Regions from separate parts of the Homo sapiens genome. Here region 2 is linked to region 1. Evidence: promoter capture Hi-C in 16 types of primary human blood cells and fetal thymus (Javierre and others, 2016). All regions are on one chromosome and are shown on one strand. The core of a region is centred on a gene start or on the middle of the fragment in contact, and the rest is flanking DNA. Distances in the headings are between cores, read along the strand shown.

Region 1 (3,634 bases), core at 493-2,992:
GGAGGCAGACAAGATTGCTATTTATCTGGAAAATTCAGTGCCCTAACAATAGCTCTGAGCTCAGAGATTAGTCAGTATCAACTGCCTAACATTAATGTCTCCATGGCTCAGCAACCAGTGCTGTTAGACATCTCTAAGTAGAACACACACAGGTAAGTGGCCATTATTCAAGCTTTCAGGTGAAAAAAACATGAATGAGGCAGTTCTTATGCCAGCCTCAGCAGCTCCAACCCCCCACACTAGTGTTAACTTCTCTTTGCTAAGGTTCCTGGCAAATTTACTATGCTCTGAAATCAATACCCCACACCGCACCTAAAGCAAACAGTGCTGACCATCTGTAGCCTTGGAATATTAGTTTTCAAGTTAAGCATTCCCATTCTGCTGTCGCAGCAGTTCTGACAACGTGTAACTCCTGCTTAAAAAAAAAAGTCTGCCCTCTGCTAACAGCTTGACTCCATCTCTACAATTTCCCTCCCCCTCCACTCCTATTCCCCCAACTTTTAGGATGTCTGTACATACTGGATCCCGGCCTGTCGACTTCCCGCACGATGTGAGTCATGCCAGCCTTGTATCCCAGGAAGGCTGTGAGGTGGACCGGCTTGGACGGGTCATCCTTAGGGAAGCTCTTCACCTTCCCACGATGCCTGCTGCTGCGCTTCCGAGGCAGGAAGCCGAGGGACCCATGTCTGGGAGCGGAGAACTTTCTGTGAGACTAGGTGGGAAAAAAATCACCGTCAGCACCCAAACCAAAGCAGTGCCCCCTTCTCTAGTTCCCAGCTGCTTAAGTTCCAAATCTCAGCAATACTGAAGAATCCTGACCAGACACCCAGCAAGCCGAATAAAAAGGTCATTATCTCTTCCAGGCTCGCACGTGTCAAGAATGCTTTTGTATTCGACAAAATTTAAGCTGAATCTTATTTCAAATCCTCTCAACCTGTAAGAAAACGACCCATTTTTTTTATCTAACCACACAAAAATACACTAAGTAGTGGCACTAAAAACTGCTTAACAGGCAGCTTTATATGCCAATTAGCAAGGTTTTGACCGCTAAAGAAAGGGACTCCCGGGACAAACGCTGGGTAGCAGCTAGCAATGTTAAGCTATAGGCTGCCTCCGGTGCCCGGACACTAATTACACTGATACACACAGGCCAAAGAACTCCGCAGAGCCAAATCAGAACGTGACAATCAGCACACAGTTTCTGTCCGCCCGTCAATAAGTTCATCATCTGTGGTTTCTGCGAGCTCCAGAGGCCTTCGGAGTGCACCAGCGGCCCCAGATATTCAGGAGGACTCCACAACACTCCCCTCCCCCAAGCTTCTTTACCTCCCAATGAGAACGGCGCCGAGAACCTCCACCCAAGGTCCTTCTACCCAGACAAGCAGGTTATGGGCCCTAATCCCAACTAATGATAGAATTGGTGAGGTCGAAACTTAGAAATGACTCATGGCTTTAAAAACGCCGGGCCTCCAAGCCTGCTCCCACCCTTACGGCCTCTCTCTGGCCGACCTGCAGGCCCAAAGCCAGTCCTCCAAGCGCTCTTCACAAGCCTCTCGACTTTCCAGAAAATAGGCCAGACTGAAGTCCCCGCTGGGTCGCCCGTGCCCCTAAAGCAAACCCCCGGCGCCGGCCAAGACGGGATGGCGGCGATGCGTCGCGGATTCAGCCGTGCCGACGCCGGTGACAATGAAACGGCCGCCATTACAACACATACCATCACGCCATCAAATCCCGCCGGTAGAGGCCGGTCGGCCTTACGGGTCCGCTATATAAAGCCAAATCTGGCCCCGCCCCTTCCGGCGTGCGAGCGCGCCCCCGCGGCAGACGACAGGTCGGGGGCACGTACCGAGCGCCATTTCCACGCACGCTCTTCCGCTCCTAGCTTTCGTTCAGAAGTTGACGTCAGCTTCGGAGACAGAAATTACACACTCTACGGCGAGGGGTCGGGTTCAAACTTAGTGAAAAGCCGCGGAGAGGTGGGCTAAGGGTGGGTGAGCCACAAATCTACGGCGTCCGGCAGCAGCCAAATTTGATAATAACGAAGAAAAATGGCTGCGTCGCTTCTCCTCCTGTGATATGCAGCTATCTCTGGAATTAGCGAAGAAAGACTGAAACTCTCGTTTCCTGGCTCCCACGCTGGTTTTGCGGCGACACCAATTTACCTTTAATACCTTTAATCTCGGGCATCCCTCCCTCAAGCCCTATCTCTGCCATTTCTCCCATGCTAATGCAGTGGCCCGCGCTTGATTCTGAGGGTCAGGAGCGTCCCAAGCCTGCGGAACGGCCTCACGACCTCTGGTCATGCCGAGTCCAGCTGCTCAGCCTCCCGGAGCCCCACGCCTTCCAGACCTATGCATCAGCGAGGGCTTTCGCTGATCTCTGCCTAGGCTCCAGGGTGACTCGGATCCTGACCGATTCCCTGCTTCCAGGCTGGTCCCTTACAAATCTCTTTTTTGAGACGGAGTCTCGCTCTGTCGCAGTGGCGCGATCTCAGCTCACTGCAAGCTCCGCCTACCGGTTCCCAGTTCAAGCAGTTCTCCTGCCTCAGCCTCCCGAGTAGCTGGGATTACAGGAATGCGCCACCATGCCTGGCTAATTTTTTTTTTTTTTTTTTTTGTATTTTTAGTGGAGACGGTGTTTCACCATGTTGGCCAGGCTGGTCTTGAACTCCTGATCTCGTGATCCGCCCGCCTCGGCCTCCCAAAGTGCTGGGATTACAGGTGTGAGCCACCGCGCCTGGCCCCCTACAAATCTTTCTAAGAATCAAGTATCTCGTTACTTTCCATGGCCGCCTCGTTGTTTCCTCGGAATTAAGCATCAACTTCAGCGGCCACCAAAGACGCTCCCCTAACCGTCTACTTCAGCCTCATGGCTGCGCCAGAGCACACGCTCTCATATCACCTGCTTCCTCTGTCCCACCCTGTCATCTTCTTTAATTCTGGGCCTGGCCTTTGCTCCCACCGTCGTTTGAAAAGCATTCTCTCGGCCAGGCGCGGTGGCTCACGCCTGTAATCCCAACACTTTGGGAGACCGAGGCGGGCGGATCACCTGAGGTCAGGAGTTCGAAACCAGCCTGGGCAACATGGCGAAACCCCGTCTCTATTAAAAATACAAAAATTAGCGGGGCACGATGGTGTGCGTCTGTAATCCCAGCTACTTGGGAGGCTGAGGCGGGAGAATCGTTTGAACCCGGGAGACGGAGTTTGCAGTGAGCTGAGATTGCGCCAGTGCAATCCAGCTCAAAAAAAAAAAAATTATCTCAATCCTCACACCATTCCCGAAGGACATAAGTGATAGATCTTCAATCCATTATTAGAAATCCTGGGGGCCACATATGTTTCAAAATTGAGCATTTTTTGATTTTTAGAAAGGTAATATGGTGCACATACTGTATATTATGTAATACAGCACTTTTTAAAGAAAAACAATATTCCGTAAGGAAACATGAATATTCACATGGAGTGGGACAAATATAAATAGACTCACATCAGTTCAAGGCTGACTTTGCTGCTCAAAAAATGCATCAGTTTACTTTTTGCTGCCAAATAATTTAAGAAGGTTTTTAAAATTTCAGGATACAGGCCAGGCACGGTGGCTCACACCTGTAATCCCATCACTTATGGGAGGCTGAGGA
Region 2 (3,634 bases), core at 743-3,242, 440 kb before region 1:
TTGGGTTCAAATTTCAACCCCAAAAAAGGCAACAACTGTCTTTCTTTTTTTTTTCTTTTCTTTTTTTGAAATGGAGTCTCGCTCTGTCGCCCCGGCTGGAGTGCAGTGGCGCGATCTCGGCTCACTGCAAGCTCTGTCTCCTGGGTTCATGCCATTCTCCTGCCTCAGCCTCCCGAGTAGCTGGGACTACAGGTGCCCACCACCACACTCGGCTAATTTTTTGTATTTTTAGTAGAGACGGGGTTTCACTGTGTTAGCCAGGATGGTCTCGATCTTCTGACCTCGTGATCTGCCCGCCTCGGCCTCCCAAAGTGCTGGGATTACAGATGTGAGCCACCGCACCCGGCCAACAACTTTCTTTTTGGCTTAGTGATTTGGGGGTCCTGAGACTTACCTTCCTTTCACCAAAAAAACCTGTAGTACAGCAAACAAAAATTTAGTAGCTTAAAACACAAGAATCTATTATCTCTCATGATTCTGTGTTTGACGGGCACTTTGGATGGTTCTCTTTCCTGCTCTTGTATAGGGTAACTGGTGTGGCCACGGTCAGAGACAAGGCCAAGGCTTGATGTGTACATCTGGAGTCATAGTACTGGATGCTGGCTGGGCCTCTCTCTCCTCGTGGTCTCTCATCATTCATAGTCTACTTCAAGCTTGCTTATGTGGTTCCAGGAGTCACACAAGAAGGTGAGAGACACACAAAGCTTCTTAAGGTCTTGCCTTGGAACTTACACAACATTGCTCCCTCTGCATTCTGTTGGTCAAAGCAAGTCACAAGGTATGGTGAGCAGATTTCAAGGCCACTAAGGTTCCTGCCTCCCCCAACCCAGTGTACATGTCCTGTATAATCCCCTCCCTTTGAGCATGAGAGGGACCTAAGGAACGTGTTGGGATTTTGCTCCCATGATTAGGTTATATTGAAAAAACAGGCCGGGTGTGGTGGTTCCTGCCTGTAATTCCAGCACTTTGGGAGGCCGAGGTGGGTAGATCACCTGAGGTCGGGAGTTTGAGACCAGCCTGGCCGATATGATGAAACCCCATCTCTACTAAAAATACAAAAATTAACTGGGCGTGGTAGTGGACACCTGTAATCCCAGCTACTGGGGAAGCTGAGGCAGGAGAATCACTTGAACCTGGGAGACGGAGGTTGCAGTGAGCCAAGATTGTGCCACTGCACTCCAGCCTGGGCAACAGAGCAACACTCTGTCTCAAAAACAAACAAACAAGGTTTTGTAGACATAATTAAGGTCCTTTAAGTTGACTTTGACTTATTCAAAAGGGAGTTTATCTTGGTCTGACCTAATCAGGCGAGCTCTTTGAAAGACAATCCAAGCCTCTCCCAAGAGGAAAGGTTGGAAGCAGTGGAATTGCGCTCCTGTTGACCTTGAAGAGGCAAGATGCCATGTTGTGGAGAGGGCCATGTGGCAGGAACGGTGGTGGGTGGTTTCCAGGAGCTGAGGACCTCAGTCCTACAATCACAAGGATCTGAATTCTGTGACTAGCCACTGAGCTTGGAGGAGAACTCTGAGTTTTCAGATGGGGATGTGGCGCCAGCTGACACCTGGATTGCAGCCTGTGAGACCCTGAGCAGAGACTTCAGTTAAGCTGTGCCTGGACTTCTGACCCACAGAAACTGAAATGATAAAGGGGTATTGCTTTAAGCAATCAGTGATAGAGCATAGCAAACTAATATATCAGGCCAGTCCAGATTCAGGAACAGGGAAAGAGACTCCATGCCTGGATGGGAGGAGTGGCAGGGTCACACTGAAAAGGGAACGCAGAGCTATTATTGTAATAATTTACCTCAAGGGTCCCTAGTTGGGACACAGCTCATGCTTAAAGCTGATGGGATCCCTGGGGCCAGACACTCCTTTCACAAAGGCACCTGCAGAATTCTGGGCATCTTACCTTTGTGACTTCTACCAGTTGGGTGTGGTTGGGACTCATGGGCTATGCCTCCATGTCCCTAGCATCAGACACATGTGGGTGCCTCATAAATATCTGTGGGACAAATCAAGGAATGAAGGTGCTGAACTGGGCTTTGCAGGGATGGGGAGTGAGGCCTTTGCCAAACAGAGTTTGTCTGCACCTGGGGCAAGGAGGGACTCAGGGATGGGAGGAGGTAGCTTTGTCCCAGGCTTCGACTGTCAGCCTGGCATGGTTGAGGCACAGAGTCTCTTAAGGCTGTGGACAGTGTCAGAATTGGGAAAGAGTACTTTAGCTCCAATCCCATTGAAGATCTATCCAAGTCCACTTTCCAGAATGGACTATCCCCTCCCTGATGCCAGAAGTCAGTGCCTTGAGCTTGGGACCACAGGCCACAGGCCTTCATTCTGTCCCTGATTTGAGGTCCTGGAGGGCTGGGGTGTGAGTTAGAATGTGGAGGGTGTGGCATCATCTGGACATTTAACTCAACACAGAGTCAACTCTGCACTTGTCTCCATCATTTAGAAAATGTAAAATGATTTTCTGCAGATGTCTTTATCACTATACACTGCACACTGCTGCAACTCAACCCCTTATGTGATTGTCTTAGTCACATGTAAGTGACTTATTAAGGAAGTGCTCCCAGGGGAGATTGCTAAGGGAATGAGTGAAGCAAGATAGGAAAGGGAAGGAAGCAAGCAGAGAGTAAGGTGTCGAGCTAAAGTCCTGCAGTGAGTGGCCCCAGCCTCACGCCTCAAGGGATCTGGAGAGTAAGTTATTCCTCAATATTTTCCCCCACCCACCAGACCCTGGTTACAGGCTGCAGGGCAAGGGTATTAGGTGGGGGGAATGTTGATCCCCCAGACACGTGCTGCTTTCTGCCTCTGTCTGCAAAGTGGCTTCAGTACCCTGGGGATGGCCTTTGGAAGGAGAGCTATAGATGCTGGCTGCTGGAGGAAAGGCACATGGGTGGGCTTGGGGGGACATAGAACAGGGACCCCTGGGGATCCGAGCAGGGAACAGATGTTACTGCGGAGGGATGAGACACAGCAGCTGAGTATGGTACTTTATAGGCTCTGCAAACTCCAAGCTGCTCCCACCCCAGGCCCTTGATCCTTGCTGTTCCCTCTACCTAGAACAGTCCCATCTTCTCCCAGGGGTGGCACGGTGGCTTCTTCAGTTCTTTCAATCTCTGCTCAGATGTTACCTCTTCAAAAAGATTTCCTCTGATGACCTTATGTAAAGGAGCCCCAACTCCTACCCACCACCCTCTCTCCCCATAGATGAGAAAGAAAAATAAAAACTCAGGACCCGAATTCACTATCTTCCGGACATGTCCTTGACCTTGGCAATATAAGCTTCTCAATTGATCGAGGCCTGTCTCAGACACTTTTTGGTTACAATGTCTATTTTTTCCCCTGGTCCTTAACACTATCTGGCGTTATAGGAATGGTTTGTTTAATATGACCATTTATTTAATGCCTGACTTCCTCACTAGACGCCAGGCTCCACAGTGGCAGGGACTTTGCCCATCTGGTTCCCACTTTTTCTCCAGTGCTAACACAGGGCCCTGCACACAGTAGGTATCCAATTCATATATATATATTTTCCAATTAATATTTGTTGGGTGTGCCATTGAAGGGCTTGTTAAGAGTAATTTTGACCATATAACATGTATAGGGATTCAGGTCCAGCAACTGCTTGCTGC

The links. The method cuts DNA at HindIII sites, captures the fragments that hold promoters and counts their contacts. A CHiCAGO score of 5 or more calls a contact.
Region 2: a fragment that was not itself captured here is called in contact with the fragment with the promoter of RPL3 in region 1 in 9 of 17 cell types (total B cells, naive CD8 T cells, naive B cells and 6 more); the score reaches 8.4 in total B cells.

The regions. Positions count from the first base shown.
Region 1 is chr22:39,317,881-39,321,514 of GRCh38, forward strand. RPL3 (ribosomal protein L3) reads right to left here and starts at 1,743. Exons shown (of 10, transcript NM_000967.4): 1 at 1,715-1,743; 2 at 520-712. The coding sequence starts at 1,717. SNORD43 (small nucleolar RNA, C/D box 43) reads right to left here and starts at 1,233; the gene lies at 1,172-1,233. RefSeq lists enhancers at 732-1,621, 1,488-1,537, 1,622-2,511, 1,928-2,347, 2,512-3,400. The HindIII fragment of the contact is 13,460 bases long and covers 1,316-3,634 here.
Region 2 is chr22:38,876,740-38,880,373 of GRCh38, forward strand. No RefSeq gene overlaps it. Among named protein-coding and RNA genes, the nearest start is that of CBX6, 6.3 kb to the left of the region's middle. The HindIII fragment of the contact is 2,580 bases long and covers 703-3,282 here.